Linked DNA regions of Homo sapiens: regions 1 and 2 are each linked to region 3. The links are contacts of gene promoters, found by promoter capture Hi-C in human tissues and cell types (Jung and others, 2019). All regions are on one chromosome and are shown on one strand. Each heading gives the region's core, a stretch centred on a gene start or on the middle of the fragment in contact. The rest is flanking DNA. Distances are from core to core; before and after follow the strand shown. Region 1 has its middle 300 kb from the start of CA8. Region 2 has its middle 190 kb from the start of LINC03018. Region 3 holds the start of NSMAF (neutral sphingomyelinase activation associated factor).

Evidence for each region. The method cuts DNA at HindIII sites, captures the fragments that hold promoters and counts their contacts. A contact is called where the count stands out against the background at its distance.
Region 1: a fragment that was not itself captured here is called in contact with the fragment with the promoter of NSMAF in region 3 in 1 of the 25 tissues and cell types used here (lymphoblastoid cells).
Region 2: a fragment that was not itself captured here is called in contact with the fragment with the promoter of NSMAF in region 3 in 1 of the 25 tissues and cell types used here (dorsolateral prefrontal cortex).

Annotation. Positions count from the first base shown.
Region 1 is chr8:59,976,462-59,980,906 of GRCh38, forward strand. No RefSeq gene overlaps it. Among named protein-coding and RNA genes, the nearest start is that of CA8, 300 kb to the right of the region's middle. The HindIII fragment of the contact is 4,455 bases long and covers 176-4,445 here.
Region 2 is chr8:57,558,490-57,563,404 of GRCh38, forward strand. No RefSeq gene overlaps it. Among named protein-coding and RNA genes, the nearest start is that of LINC03018, 190 kb to the right of the region's middle. The HindIII fragment of the contact is 5,602 bases long and covers 1-4,915 here.
Region 3 is chr8:58,657,512-58,662,468 of GRCh38, forward strand. It overlaps NSMAF (neutral sphingomyelinase activation associated factor), which reads right to left and starts at 2,342. Exons shown (of 31, transcript NM_003580.4): 1 at 2,062-2,342. The coding sequence starts at 2,120. It overlaps LOC124902083 (small nucleolar RNA U13), which reads right to left and starts at 4,833; the gene lies at 4,730-4,833. RefSeq lists enhancers at 782-1,345, 880-1,169, 1,346-1,908 and silencers at 1,620-2,069, 2,080-2,419. The HindIII fragment of the contact is 8,969 bases long and covers 1-4,957 here.

The DNA.
Region 1 (4,445 bases), core at 1,153-3,652, 1.3 Mb after region 3:
CTTTAGCGCTCTAATGCCAATCATCTTTCTATCCCATTGAGACTTTCAATTCATTGATCTCATCAGCTTTCACTCTCTTTCACCTCCATGATCACCTCTCTTCCCTGATTAACTGGATTTATTTGCCCCTCAAAGTCTTCGTTGGGTTTGTTAGACAAAACTGATACAGGAGTTACGAAGAAATCACTTAGGCAGATAGTAAGGGTATGGGAGTCCTCTGTAAGGCTTTTACTTTTATGAAAAGCAGGCCCAAATCATTTTCTAACAAAGAGAAGCCGGTAAAGTTGAGCTGAAGACACAGACAAGCAAGCGGGGAGCTTGCACGGGTGAATGCTGGCAGGAACTAAGGACTAGACATGTTCAAGATGGTGGCTCCATCTTCTCTTTTCCATGTCAGCCACGTGTACAGTAAGAAGCAGACAAGATGGCCCCCAATCAACTGGAAAGCCCATTAGGGTGGGGTGAACAGCCTTCCCCTTGCGCTATGTAAAAGTCATACCTGATCAAACCAATCTGTGAACCCTATGTAAATCAGACACCACCTCTTCAAACCTGACTATAATATTGGGCGCATGAGCCCCCTGTCCATCTTTTTGCTGAGAGACCACTTTATAGAGAAAGCTGTTTCTCTTTCTCTTCTCTTCTACTATTAAACCTCTGCTCCTAAACTCCTTGTGTGTGTCTGTGTCCTAAATATTCCTGGCACGCAACAACAAACCCCAGGGTATATACCTCAGACAATGTAGTCATTTCAAAGCCAAAGACATAGATAAAAGCAATAATCTCTGCCTTCTGCACCTGTATAACGAAAGAACATAGCAAAAGGAAAGCCCAACCACACTGTCCAGTACCATTTTGAATTAATGACTAAAAACCCCAAGCGTGCTGTTAATAATACCAAGTAAAATATAATCTGATACTATAATGCTATAGTATTACGTTATCATTAAGTTCATTTAACCTCTCACTATGGTAATAGTTGACTTTTTCACATGTTTTCTTGCTCCTTAAACTGCTGACATTTCCTTTCTCATCTTCATGCACAACTGATAACTTTGCTTTCTACCAGACTAAGAAAATAAAGCAGTAACTAACTTATTTCAAGTTAAAGTGGACTAGACAATTCCTTCATTAAGAACAAACCACGAAATCTGGAAAAAATATTCATGAAAGCTTTTTGAAAGCAAGATGGAATTAACAAGGTAGTGAAGAATTAGGGCATATGATCCAGGAAAAGAAGAATCCCCAGAAAATTGAGCCTGGCATGTATCCCAAGGATGTCTTCCAATTCAGGAAGAGACATATGAGAGCCTGAGGAGCTGAAAAGCACTTTCAACAGCTTTGATTGTCTAGGGGCACAAGTATTAGAGTCTATGTCTAAACAAGAAGGAGCAACCCTGGTAAACTGCACATAATTAGAGTTTGAACAACAAACACCAGCTACACCATAAGAATAAAGCAAATCCAGAACCGGATTAGATTATCCAGATTGCTAGTGCCTCTACTTACTTCTGGAAACAAGTATACATCCTCCCTGAAGAATTTATACTTATTTTATATATTTAATTATATATAATGTAACATATATTATGTATTATAAAGATATCATCAGCAAAATTGTTAAAAATATTTCTACACATAATATCCAGCATTTAATCAAAGAACCATGAACAAAAGGAGATAATTCCACATGAATTTAAAAAGGAAAATAAGCAGAAAATAAAATAGATACACAAAGAGCCCACAAAATAATTAGCAGACATGAGACATTAAATAACTATGCTTAATATGTTTAAGAAAATAAAATCCAAGATTGAGAATTTCAACAGAACACTACAAACTGTAAAATGAAATAAGAAAATTTTAGACCTGAAAAATATAATGTCCAAAATTAAAAATCCACTGGATAAATTTAGCAGCATATTAAACAGAACTGGAAAGAATATTATTGAACTAGAAAGCAGGCAGAAAAAATACTCTGAACAAAACAGATAGAAAACTTGTGTAGGAAAAAATAAACAATAGAGGAGAAAGAGACCAAGGGTATTTAACATACATGTAATTTGCTTTCCCAGAAGGAAATCAAAATGGAGCTGTAGTAATATTTGAAAAGATAGTGGTTGAGAATTGTCCTAAAGTGGTAACCAAAGGAAATATTCAAAAAGCATTCTGAGCCACAAGCAGGATAAATTTTTTTAATAGGCATATCATTTGAAAATGTTAAAAACAGAGAAAATCTTACAACCACATAAGGGACAAAAAAAGATGAATCTGAAAAGACCAAGAATCAGACTGCAGGAGATTTTTCAACAGAAGCAATAGAAGCCAGAAAACACAGGATTAATATCTTCAAAGCATGGAAAAAAAATAACTGCCAACTGAGAATGCTATACTCAAAGAATGCATTTTTCAAAAGTGAGGGTACAACAAAGACATTTTCTAACAAAGAAAAACAGAAAATTTAGCTCCAGCAGACCAGCACTGAAAGAAATACAAAAAGGTGTTTTTCAGGCAGAAGGGAAATGAAACCCGATGGGAGTTCAGGAATTGGTGAAGGAAGGATGAGCAATAAAAATGATAAACATGTGTAAAGATTTGAATGAAATTTGCTTCTAAAACATTTTAAGAGTATAATAGTGTTTAAAAATATGTGTGTGGCAACCTAGTGAGACCTTTACTCTGCAAAAAAATGTTTTAAAAATTAAGCTGGGTGTCATTGCACATGTCTGTATTCCTAGCTACTCAGGAAGCTGAAGCAGGAGAATCCCTTGATCCCAGGAGTTTGAGGCTGCAGTGATCTATGATTGTGCCACTGCATTCCATCCTGGGCAACAGAGTGAGACCTCATCTCTAAAACACACACACGCATATACACACATACACACACACATACACACACACACACGTGTATGTGTATTTGTTAAGAAAACATTTATATATATATAAAGACAAAAATAACAAAATAACAAATATACCATATAAGCTAAGAAGAGGATAAATAGAGTTAAAGTGTTTTAAGATTTGTACATTTTCTGAGAAAAGGATAAAAGTACCAAGGACTCTTGTATGCAAGGAATTCATGACGTAATTTTTTAGGAAAACCACTAAAAGAAGAGGAAAAATCTATAAAATCAACTAGCTAATAAGGATGAAAATAATAAAAATAATAATTCAAAGAATGACACAAAGAGAAAAGGAGAACATACAAAAGCTGGAGTAAGGACAAAAGACAGTGAATTTAAATCCCAATGTGTCAGTAATTTATACTATTGACTAAGTGTTTCCATTTTTAAAAAATATGTTTTTCAGGCCCAACTGTATGCTGGTAAGAAGGAAAGTATGTATAATATAAACATATAGAAAGGTTAACAAAAATATCTCCCAGTGTGGTTATGGATTTCTCTATTTCTCTATGTAGTTCTGTCCATTTTTATTTTATGTAGTTTGAAGTCACATTACAGGTGCACATATATTTGTCCAATAGAATTATTACTACAATGCAAGCTTTCTAAATTTCAAAACACACATCAAAGAATTAGATTATAATTACCTTGCAAATAAATTAACATAAAAGACATACATAAGATACTGCAACCAATAATTGCAGAACATTTTGTTCTTAAAGAACGTTATTTGTGAATAAATTTACATTTTTAGAAAAGTTGCAAAGGTAGAACAGAGGGTTCCTACAAAATATTCATTTGGTGTCCCTATTGTTAATATTTTACATAACTGCAGTAAATTGGTACAATACTATTACCTAAATTTTAGATGGCTAGTATTAACCTTAATCACTTGGTTAATGTGGTGTCACTTAGGTTTCCTCACTGTAAAGTTATTATTTTTCTCTTCTCAAACTCTATTATTTAAAAGCAAGTCAATAAATCCTGACAACCCTCAAGGAGATGAAAACTAAACTCTATTTATTTATATCAGTATGAATTTATGAATACTTATTTTAGGGGTTGCAATCCAATATTATCATTACTTATTTATTACTCAAATTGCTCCAGCAGTTAGATAGGCTGCTACATCCTTTTAACATGCCACTATTATTTCTGTTTGGTTTTGTTTTTTAGCACAACCTTCAGTAACCCTCTTTTTCTTTTTCTTTTTTCAAAGGGACAGGATCTTGCTTGCTGCCCAAGCTAGAGTGGTGTGATCACAGATCACTGCAGCCTTGAACTCCTGGGCTGTAGCGATCTTCCCTCCTCAGCATCCCAAATAGGTTAGATTACATGTGGGAGCCAGCGCCCAGCTAGTCTCATTTTATATTTTGCCCTCCTCAATCCTAAAATCAACTATTTCACCAAGGAGCACTGGCTCATTTAATTGAAAAATGGCATATGAAAACAAAAATCTGGGTGCTGGAGATGTTCATTGCTACTAGGGTGTCACTGTTTCTAGTTCCTTTCAATGAAGAGGCCTGGGAAAATATTTGTAAG
Region 2 (4,915 bases), core at 886-3,385, 1.1 Mb before region 3:
AGTCATTCTGCATGATGTATGTAATCAAAAAGTTTGAAATGTCTGCTTACAAATAAAGAATGTTTTTACTGAAAAAGAAAGTTTCATTGCCTATAAATTTACTAAACATTCTATCAAATATCTTGTTCAACCCATTTAATAAATTTTTACATTTAGACACTACAATTTTTGGCTTTAAAAGATCCATCTGATTCTTTTTATATTTTTTATTTCTTTTCTCATTGTGCTCATGTTTTCATTTAAATGCTTGAACATATTTATAACGACTGTTTTAAACTATCTGCAAATTTAATCACTTCTGTCGTTTCTGGACATTTCTAAACCATGTCTATTCACATTTTTTCAGATAATAATGGGTCACATTTTTCTGCATCTTTGCATATACACTAATATTTGATTGGTTGCTGAATATTGTAAATATTAAATCATTAAGTGTCAAGATTATATTGTTTTCCTTTAATGAGTGTCGCAATTTGTTCCCGTAGGCAGTTATTTACATGCCAAATGGCTTGATATTTTTAAAAATTGACTTTAACTTTGTTTGGGTGAGTTTAGAACAGATTTGTCTAGCACTAGTTGATGCTTACTGCTAAGACCCTCCTGGGGTCTCTATTGAATGCTGTGGCTATTCAACGGAGTCCTCTCTTGTTGCCTGGAACTGCATCTTCCAGCCCTGTGTGGGCTCTGGTGATTTTTCAACTTATGTCATCCTATAGTTATTCTTTCCCTGGGAGTTAACAAAGATGCTCTCCTTGACCTAGCTTTAGTGAAACTCCTTTAAGTCCTTAAAACCCTGACCTTGGACTCTGTTCGTGGCCTACTTGGCCCAGTTTTAGCAAAAACCCTGCTGAGTCAGTTTAGAAAACTCCCTGACCTCAATATAAAATCAAATTCTTCATTCCCCACCCTCCATATCTTATCACCTCGCCTGCCTTCTGCAAGAATCTTGAGTTTTCTAGTTGACTACAGGAGCAGGGCAAATTTAGTACCAGTTACCCCATCATGGCTACGTACAGAAATTCAAAAGTTAATATTTTAAGAAATATTCTTTCTCTTTTCACTAGAAAGTAAGTCTCGCAGCAACAGAGATTACTTTTACTCTTATATCTCTAGTTCCTAAAGTAAGCGTCTGGTATACAACTGGTCCTCAATAAATTCTTGTTGAATGAATGGTGACAGGAGGCATTTGGGTACACATGAAAGAAATTTCAGTGAATAATGGTTTACTCAATAGGTGCTTAAGCTCTGCACATTGCAAGAAGTGTTGGGGAGGGCAGTTCCTGGCTCTGGCTCAACTGCAGTGCTTCCATGAAGACACAGTCTCTGTCTTGCCACTCCATCCTTACAGGTTTTTATTTGCTCTTTAGTCTTCTAGCTACATGGTTAATGGAAATGTGTCTTCTTTGGGGGTATCTTTAAAGCATGTGTGCTGTGTTATTTGTGTATATTTAATTTTTTGCTAGAGGACAAGAAAGGAAAATGGATGATGTAACTCATAAGTTGTATTAAGTATATACAACTTATGGCTTGTGAGTCATAGGAAGATCATAAGACGTATAGATTATAAATTAGTAACCCATAAGACACATCAGATATAGGATAAAGGGGATATTTATGTGTTGAGACAGAACAAAGAAGACTAATATCTACAGATAGCAATAGAAAGGCCACATAAACCTTAAATATGCACAAGGTTCAGATGATGTCACCTGTGGTTTGAAAGCTATGCCCTTCTACATCAGCCTCCCCAGGGTGACACCCATATGGCCTCACATGTTTTCTGCCAAAGGCATGCATATGTGAGGCTTGCCTGCTCTTCAGGTGGTTGGGGAGTGATATTGTGATGAGGGGGGCCACGGCGTCACTGCAGCAGAGCAGCATGTGTTGGCTTCAGGCACTGTCTGCCTGTGGACACCCGTGGCTCACCATCAGCTCTGGTGCTTGACACACTGGTTCAGCAAGAAGCCTGCTGTGGTGGAGAGGGGGCTGGGTGAGCAAGTGTCATAACATAGGACTCAGTGAGTCTTTCTCCCTCCTCCCTTCTCTTTCTCCTTGCTTCTCACTGTAGGCTTTAGACGGACTCAAGTCTCTGAGGTTCAACACCTTAGTTTGATGTGTGACTCCTTCTGCTCCATGACCTCAGGGACAACCTTTCTGGCAGTGCAGTCAGGGGCTACTGTGGCATGCCGAGGTTTTCCCAGCTGGTATCACTACCTCCATATTGCAGGTAGGAATACAGAGTGGGGGCATTGCCGGGGACCCGGGCTTCATTGTCTTTTAATAAGCAATTCTAAACTTTTCAAAAAGCTTCCTAACAGACTTCCCCTGATAGTTCACCAGCTAGAATTATGTCACTGGGACACTTCTAGCCTGCAAGGGAGGCTGAGGCAGAGAATTTTTAGTTTCTGAAGGCTCTGCCACAGAGATGAGCAGGGAGAAAAGGTTGGCGATAAATATGGGAACATGTAGCTAGCGGTCTCTGCCCCAGATATGATATTGAATATGAGCCTCAGAATTCTTGTCAATAAAATGTGTTCCTATGTCACTGGATTTTTGTGAGGATAAAATAAATGCTCTATGTGAGATGCCTTGCATAGAGTCTGACCCATCGAAAGGGTTCAGGCATTAGTTTTATTTACTCCATTCTGTCTTATTTTATTCTGTCTTTTCTGCAGAGTAAACTAGGTGTCCTATCATTTTTCACTAAGTTAAACTCCTCAGAATGACAAATTAAGGGCTTCTGCAATGTGGCTCCAATCCATCCTTCTCTGTCTTATCTCTGTCTTACTCTGACTCACACTCCAGTGTCTGAACAGGCCCCATGCTGTGCCATCTGTGGGGCTCTGCCGGTTCCTGGAGGTACTCATCCATCACACCCTCCTCCAGAACCAGCCCCAGGCCAGGCCCAGGGCCCTCAGTACATCCCCAGTTTTCCTGTAGTCAGGATGACTTTCTCTATGATCCCATGGATCCCATTGTTGCTTTATTGAAGCACAGTCTGAAATTTTTCCAGCTAGCCTTATAGCTGTCAAACTTTCAAAATTTAATTTCCTTGAGCAGCACAGTCTCTCAGCACAGAGCCCAGAAACACAATAGGAGCTCAGGGTATTTTTAATCCTGCCCGTGGTTCAATTGGGGAGGGGCTTCCAAAATGTACACACGACCCATCAAAACATTTAACATCTCTGTGCCCTAAAGTCGTTCTAAATGTATACTTTTGGATGGTTAAAAGCGTTTTCTCTAGAAGTCTCATTTTAGGCTGATAGGTGGAGCTCTGACCAAGATGCCCTTTAGGCCCCATAGGTTCCCCTCTGATGTGTGACAATTCAATTGATTCCAACAGGGCAGGGATCCCCCAGGCAGTGGAGGGCAGCAGAGACATCAGTTCTAGGAATGAATTCATTAAAAGCCCCTCACTTTGGTTGGAAGGTACACTTACTTGGCTCTTTGAGTTAGCACACGCTTTCATCCACAAGATTGACTACACACCTGTATCTGGCAGGAAATCTACTAAGTCAGTACTTACTGGGAAATTTTGATGTGCACTGCATCTGTGATTAAATGAAAACAGCAAGGAAACATTGTATGGACTCACAGTGGATTTGTTATAAAAAAAGAAGCCCCTCAATAACTCTTCTTTAAATTAAAAGTCTAAACATAGGTAATATGACTGTACATACTATATCTTTTAGAAATCAAATGTTAACAATAATCTACAAGTTTTGTGGCCTTCATTAAAGAAAAAAAATTAAAACATGCTATTTTACCATCTTAGATTTTTTTTTTTAAATAGTAAGAAAGATATTGCTCCATGATGTTATTAAACTCATCAAAAGAGGCATAGCTATTTTTTGAAAATCTTAATCTAAGAATTCATTAGTTGTAAAAATATATAACTTGACAAGAAATGTTTTCAAAAGGAGAGCTCCTCTGTATTTAATTGAAAGGTTTGGTAAACACTTCCTATATTTCATTACTATTTTGAAAGAACTAATATGCTTTAAACAGCAAAATAAGCATTTCAAAATAGTTAAAACACATCAGTTCTCAAAAAACCTATACTGAAAAGGATTTTACTTTGATAAGAGACATCAGAGGTAATTTTTTTCTAGTTGCCATCTCATAATATAGCATTTCTAGACTTCGAAGATATTTAGACTATGAGACATTGGATATTGATCATATCTCTTTTATTTTCTTCACAGATTTCAGAGAAAATTGTAGGAGTTTAATATAATAGAGTTTTTCTTATTTCCACTTGATCTGATAGTAAAGGACATATTTATGAATAATAATGATTATTTGTAACATTATAAGCTCATGTAAACAATAATGGGAAAAAAAAGAAAGAGTGACCAGAAATAACTGCTTAATTTTTATTTGGATCTATAGAGAATTTATTTTAAGAAGGTACTTTGAACATTGACAATCAAATTTTAGGAACTAATAATTTCTAATTTACTTATTTATACAGGGATTCAGTTCGATGAATATTTTATTTATATAGATTCATTTTTTGAAACAGAGTCTCTCTCTGAGGCCCAGGCTGGAGTTCAGTGGCATGATCTTGGCTCACTGCAACTCTGCCTCCCGGGTTCAAGCGATTCCTGTACCTCAGCCTCCTGAGTAGCTGGGATTACAGGCATGTGCCACCATGCCCAGCTAATTTTTGTATTTTTAGTAGAGGTGGGGTCTCACCATGTTGGCCAGGCTGTTCTCAAGCTCCTGACCTCAGGTGATCTACCTGCCTCGGCCTCCCAAAGTGCTGGGACTACAGACATGAGCCACCACGACTGGCCAAAATATTGAATATGAAGAAGATTATAGGTGATGGAAAAAATGTTTGATATAACAAGGGAAAGCAATCATCATGGTCCTATAGTAATGTCTTGAGTATACCCCAGGTCCACCCCAG
Region 3 (4,957 bases), core at 1,092-3,591:
CAGAAATGGTAAATTTGGGGCTTAATAAAGTTGCCTTAAAATATTCCTCTGTTTCAGAATGAATTCTAAGATTTATAAAAGAGACTCCTTGATTCCAGTGCATACCTGATGTGAGACAGATTCCTGTCATTCAAATGCATATTCTATGCATTGAATGGAGTATGCCCATCAGCCCAGGTTGCAAAGCCATGGGGCAGAGCACTAAACAATTTGGGCACTCAGCAAGTTATAATTCAAATAAATATAAAACACATGGCGCCAACTTTTTCAGATGACTGATGCTCAGGAACAGTTGATGCCTCCTGACTGGATAGATAAATGTTTTGGTTGCCAAGAGCTAGAGTTCTCTCTGAACACTGCCAGCCTATCACGTTGTTGTCTAATCAATGAATTCTAACAAAGCAGCATATACATGGAAATGCAAGTACAGGTTTCAAGGTTTGTGTGACACCACGGAGCTGTATGAGCTAGCCAAATTGAACACAAATTACTTCATCGAAATAACAGCCAGAACCAAGGAAAAAACGTTTCCCTGTATATCAAAAAGGCCAATATGAGTATTGGCACGAATGACTCATATCATACAACATGATGCCAATTCAAGTGTGTCAAAGTTCTCACAATTTAAATATGAATGTTCACCCACTCAATACAGAGCACCAACAAGTCTTAATATTGTTGGTACTAAACAAAGAATCTCCACTCAAGCTCTTTCCACAAGAAAAATGCATTACAAATTCAGTCAGAAGGGCATCCCCAAGTGTGAGTTACATAGTTAGGGCTCAGTTATTTAATAAACAACCCTTTCTGTGACTAAAACCTAATCACATCACCAAAAACATTTTTGAAAGCCATATCTGAGATACGTTTTCTGTGTATCGTATCTTCTTCTCTACAGTAGAAAAATGACATTTCGTACTGTGGACACACTGGTTAGACCAACATTACAGATTAGAGAAAGATGAATGTCTGGATCAAAGGGGTCGAGTCAACCCTTATAAAACAAGTGTAGACAAATCTTGAAGTCTGCACTTGTATTCCCACGTGTAACCTGCTTTGCTGGTATTCACTGATGAGACAACGTGACAGGCTAGCAGCACTGGAAGATCTGTGGCTCTCACAATCAAAACAGTGTGTCTGTAAAATGATTCAGCCCCCCTTTCCTTTTGGCATCTGAGCTGCAGACCGAGCAAGTTGTTTCTGTCACCAAAAATGCCCTGGGAACTATACATAGAGCCGAAGTGAGCTTTCTTATGAGACTTCCCTTGGGGACAGGTCCAGCATATCTGAAAGGGAACTGCTGTGAGACCATTTTAGCTCAAGGGATCCCAAATCCTTACTGGGATGCTGGTGAGAATGAGTGCTCCGCTGCCGCACCGCGATTTCGACTGCAAAGCTTTCCAACACAAGGTCCACTGCGCGGGGAGCAAGTGTTTGGGAGGCAGGACCTTGGCTTTCCTCAGAATCAGGCCTTTCCGGCGGCCCCCCTCCCAGCCTTCCAGGGCATGGAGCTAGTCCTGTGTCTAAAGGAGTCGGCAGGAAAAAGGCGCGGCAATGCGAGTGGGTGGTCGCCGGCCTGCTCGGTGCCGCCCGGCGACCAACTCTGCGGCGCCGGCGCCGAGTGCCTGGACCCGATTAAGGGGAAGGATTAGAAAGGGGGTGCCCGCCGGGCAGCGTACTCACCCTCCCCTGCGAACGCCCGGGCTCGCGTGCCGGGATCCACGCCCGGACCCCGCGCGGCCTTCCGGGTGAGCTGCCCGCGGCCGCCGGGACCTGCACTGCCGGATAGCTCGGCATGCCTCGGCTCCGCGGTGGAATCTGGCCTGGCCCGTCATCCAGTTCCTGTCCCCGGCAGGCTCCGGCCCAGACCAGGCCCCCGGCCTCTCACCCCGACCTCAGGTTTCCGCCACAGCCCCCAGCCCAGGCCCTGGACACGCGTCCGGCCCCTGCCTCCGTGCCCGGCCCCCACGCCGCCTCCCGTCCCTCAGATCTCCGGCCGGCGTCCCCACGACCGGCCCCGACTAGGCCCCCGGCTGGGCCCTTCTTCAGCTGGGCGCGCACCTCTCCTTGGAGTAGAGCTGCAGCTGCTGCTCCTGCTGCTTCTTCCGGATAAACGCCATGGAGGGTAGGCGCGGGCGGGCGCAGAGCGCACAGGCAGGCCCCGCCGCCGCCTGCCGAGGAGGTCCGGAGGAGCCGGGGAGGGCGGGATTGGTGGCCGGCTGGGGAGCGCGCGGCTGCCGGCCTGGCTTCCCCTGCGGCGCCGCTGGGCGGCCGAGAGCCCGACGCGGCGTCCCGGCCGCGCTCACCGCAGCATCCTCGCGTGGGGACTCCGGCGGCACCGTGACTCAGGCCCGGAGGAGGGGCGCGCGGTGACACGAGGCGCCCCAAACTCAGGCCGCCTCAGAGGATCGCCAGGGCCAGCGGCCAGACCAGGATCCGACCTCACACACTAAACGTTTCACCACTTTACCAACCATTGCAGGCTGCGTTTTAAATATTTTACGCATAAAAAGGGATGCTGGCCCATAAACCACCAATCTGTTGGCCACAAAGACTTGAAATAACAACGTTTTGTGTCCTCCATTGTGAAAAAAAAAAAAAGACGGAAGTTAAAGGGGTGAAGGCAACTCAGTCGTAACTATTCCAAATACACCAGGAATAAGTGGAGATTTATAGCCAAGGAGCAAGGAGCAGGTGTTCGGAAAACTGCTAAGAGGAAACATCAATTCTGGGGGAAATTCTGGCTGAACCAACCTAACAGGAGTCCCAGTGAAGGCAGGCCAGGGGGTCAGATACTAAGGGTAGGAGTAAAGAATTTTGATCACATATGGAGGGTGGGGGATTCTTGCTAAACTGCCGTGGCAGTGTTACTTCCTAACACTGCATTTACAAGGAAGTGCACACAAGGACCTGGGAGAAGATTCAGAAGCCTAACTGAAGTTTGGCCAAGCAAAGAATCTTTAACACAGTCTCTTGATTGTTGAGATAATTGCTCGCATGATTTTTTTTTATATAACAGCTTTATTGGGATATAACTCACATACCAAACAAGTCAACCATTTAAAGTATACCATTCAGCGATTTTTAGTATATTTCCAGATATGTTCAACAATCACCACAATTTGAGAACATTTTCATCACATGTAAAAGAAACCCATACCCTCTAGCTGTCACTCTTCCTAACTCTACCCTCCAAACCCCAGCCCTAGCAAACAATAATCAATTTCCTGTCTCTATGGGTTTGCCTATTCTGGATATTTCATATAAATGGAGCCATACAATATGTGGCCTTTTGTGTCTGGCTTCTTTCATTTAGCGTAATGCTTTCAAGGTTCATCTATGTTGTAGCATGTATCTGTACAGTACTTCGTTCCTTTAGATTGCTGGAGCATATTCTGTTGCATTTTGTTTATCCATTCATCAGTTGATGGACATTTCAGTTGTTTCCACATTTTGGCTATTGTGAATAAGGCTGCTGTACACAGTCATGTACAGTTTTTTTATGGACCTATGTTTCCATTTCTGTTGAGTGGAATTGGAATCTAAGAGTGGAATTGCTGGATGTGGAGGCGAAAGCAGCTCCATCTTGGAAGCTAATCCTCCGTGTTGACTTCTGATTGACCCCAGTTCTGGGAAGGCCTCTAAGATTTCTACTTTATCTATTGTTCCTTGTGTAAGAGCAGGTATCTACCCAGTATGTTCTGTCCTTAATTCAAACAACTTGATGTTATTATACTTCAATTGTCCTACACATCCCTTCTGAACCACCCCTCCCCTATGGTATATAAGCCCTAAGGGGCTGGAGTGATGGCTCATGCCGGTAATCCCAATGCTTTTGGAAGTTGAAGCTGGAGGATTCCTTGAAGCCAGGAGTTCGAGACCAGCCTGGGCAACAAAGCAAGACCCTGTCTCTACAAAAAATAAAAAATAAAAATTACCTGGGTACAGTGGCACACACCTATAGTCCCAGCTACTGGAGAGGCTGAGGCAGGAGGATTGCTTGAAGCCAGGAGTTCGAGACCAGCCTGGGCAACAAAGCAAGACCCTGTCTCTACAAAAAATAAAAAATAAAAATTACCTGGGTGCAGTGGCACACACCTATAGTCCCAGCTACTGGAGAGGCTGAGGCAGGAGGATCACTTGAGTCCAGGAGTTTGAGGCTTCTGTGAGCCATGATCGTACCACTGCACCCCAACCTAGGCAATACAGAGAGAGAGAGACCTTATCTCAAAAGAAAAAAAAAAAAAAACATTGAGTCTGGGGGTTAATAGCACAGCAATCCACCATCTCATCTTGCTGCCCAAGACACAGATATGGACATGGCTTCTGTTCCTTAGTCGCTATTAAATGTTTCTTCCCAAGGAACTTTATTTGTCAGCCTCTTTCTTCCACCTCCCGGCATCCCAGGACTTTGAGATAGATTTGTATAGGCCTGCCCACCATGGAACTGGGTCATATGGTAACTCCATGTCTAAATGTTTGAGAGACTGCCAGACTGTTTTCCAAAGTGGCTGTACGATTTAACATGCCCACCAGCAGCGTAGAAGGGTTCCAGTTTCTCTACATCTTTACCAGTATTTATTATTACCTGACTTTTGTTTAGAGCTATTCTAGTGGTATGAGTGGTATCTCAGTGTGGTTATAACTTCTTAATATATGCTGAGAATGAGCCTCTGATTGTTTACCTTTGAGGGATTCTTGAATAACACGCCTCTAAGTTTCTTTTTCACGTTAAACAGGTAATGTGCCAAACTCGTAACAAGGTTCAAGGGCGGCACATCACACAGCTGCACATGAACACCCAATCATCACACTTATGAACTACAAAAGGATCCAAACCTCTAAATTGTATGCTTGTGGAAACATATCTCATACTGTCTTAAGGATCAGGTTTTGCAGGGTTACATTTTTAGAAGCTTCAAGGTAAATGTACATCTCAGCTTTCTCTAGTAAGTCG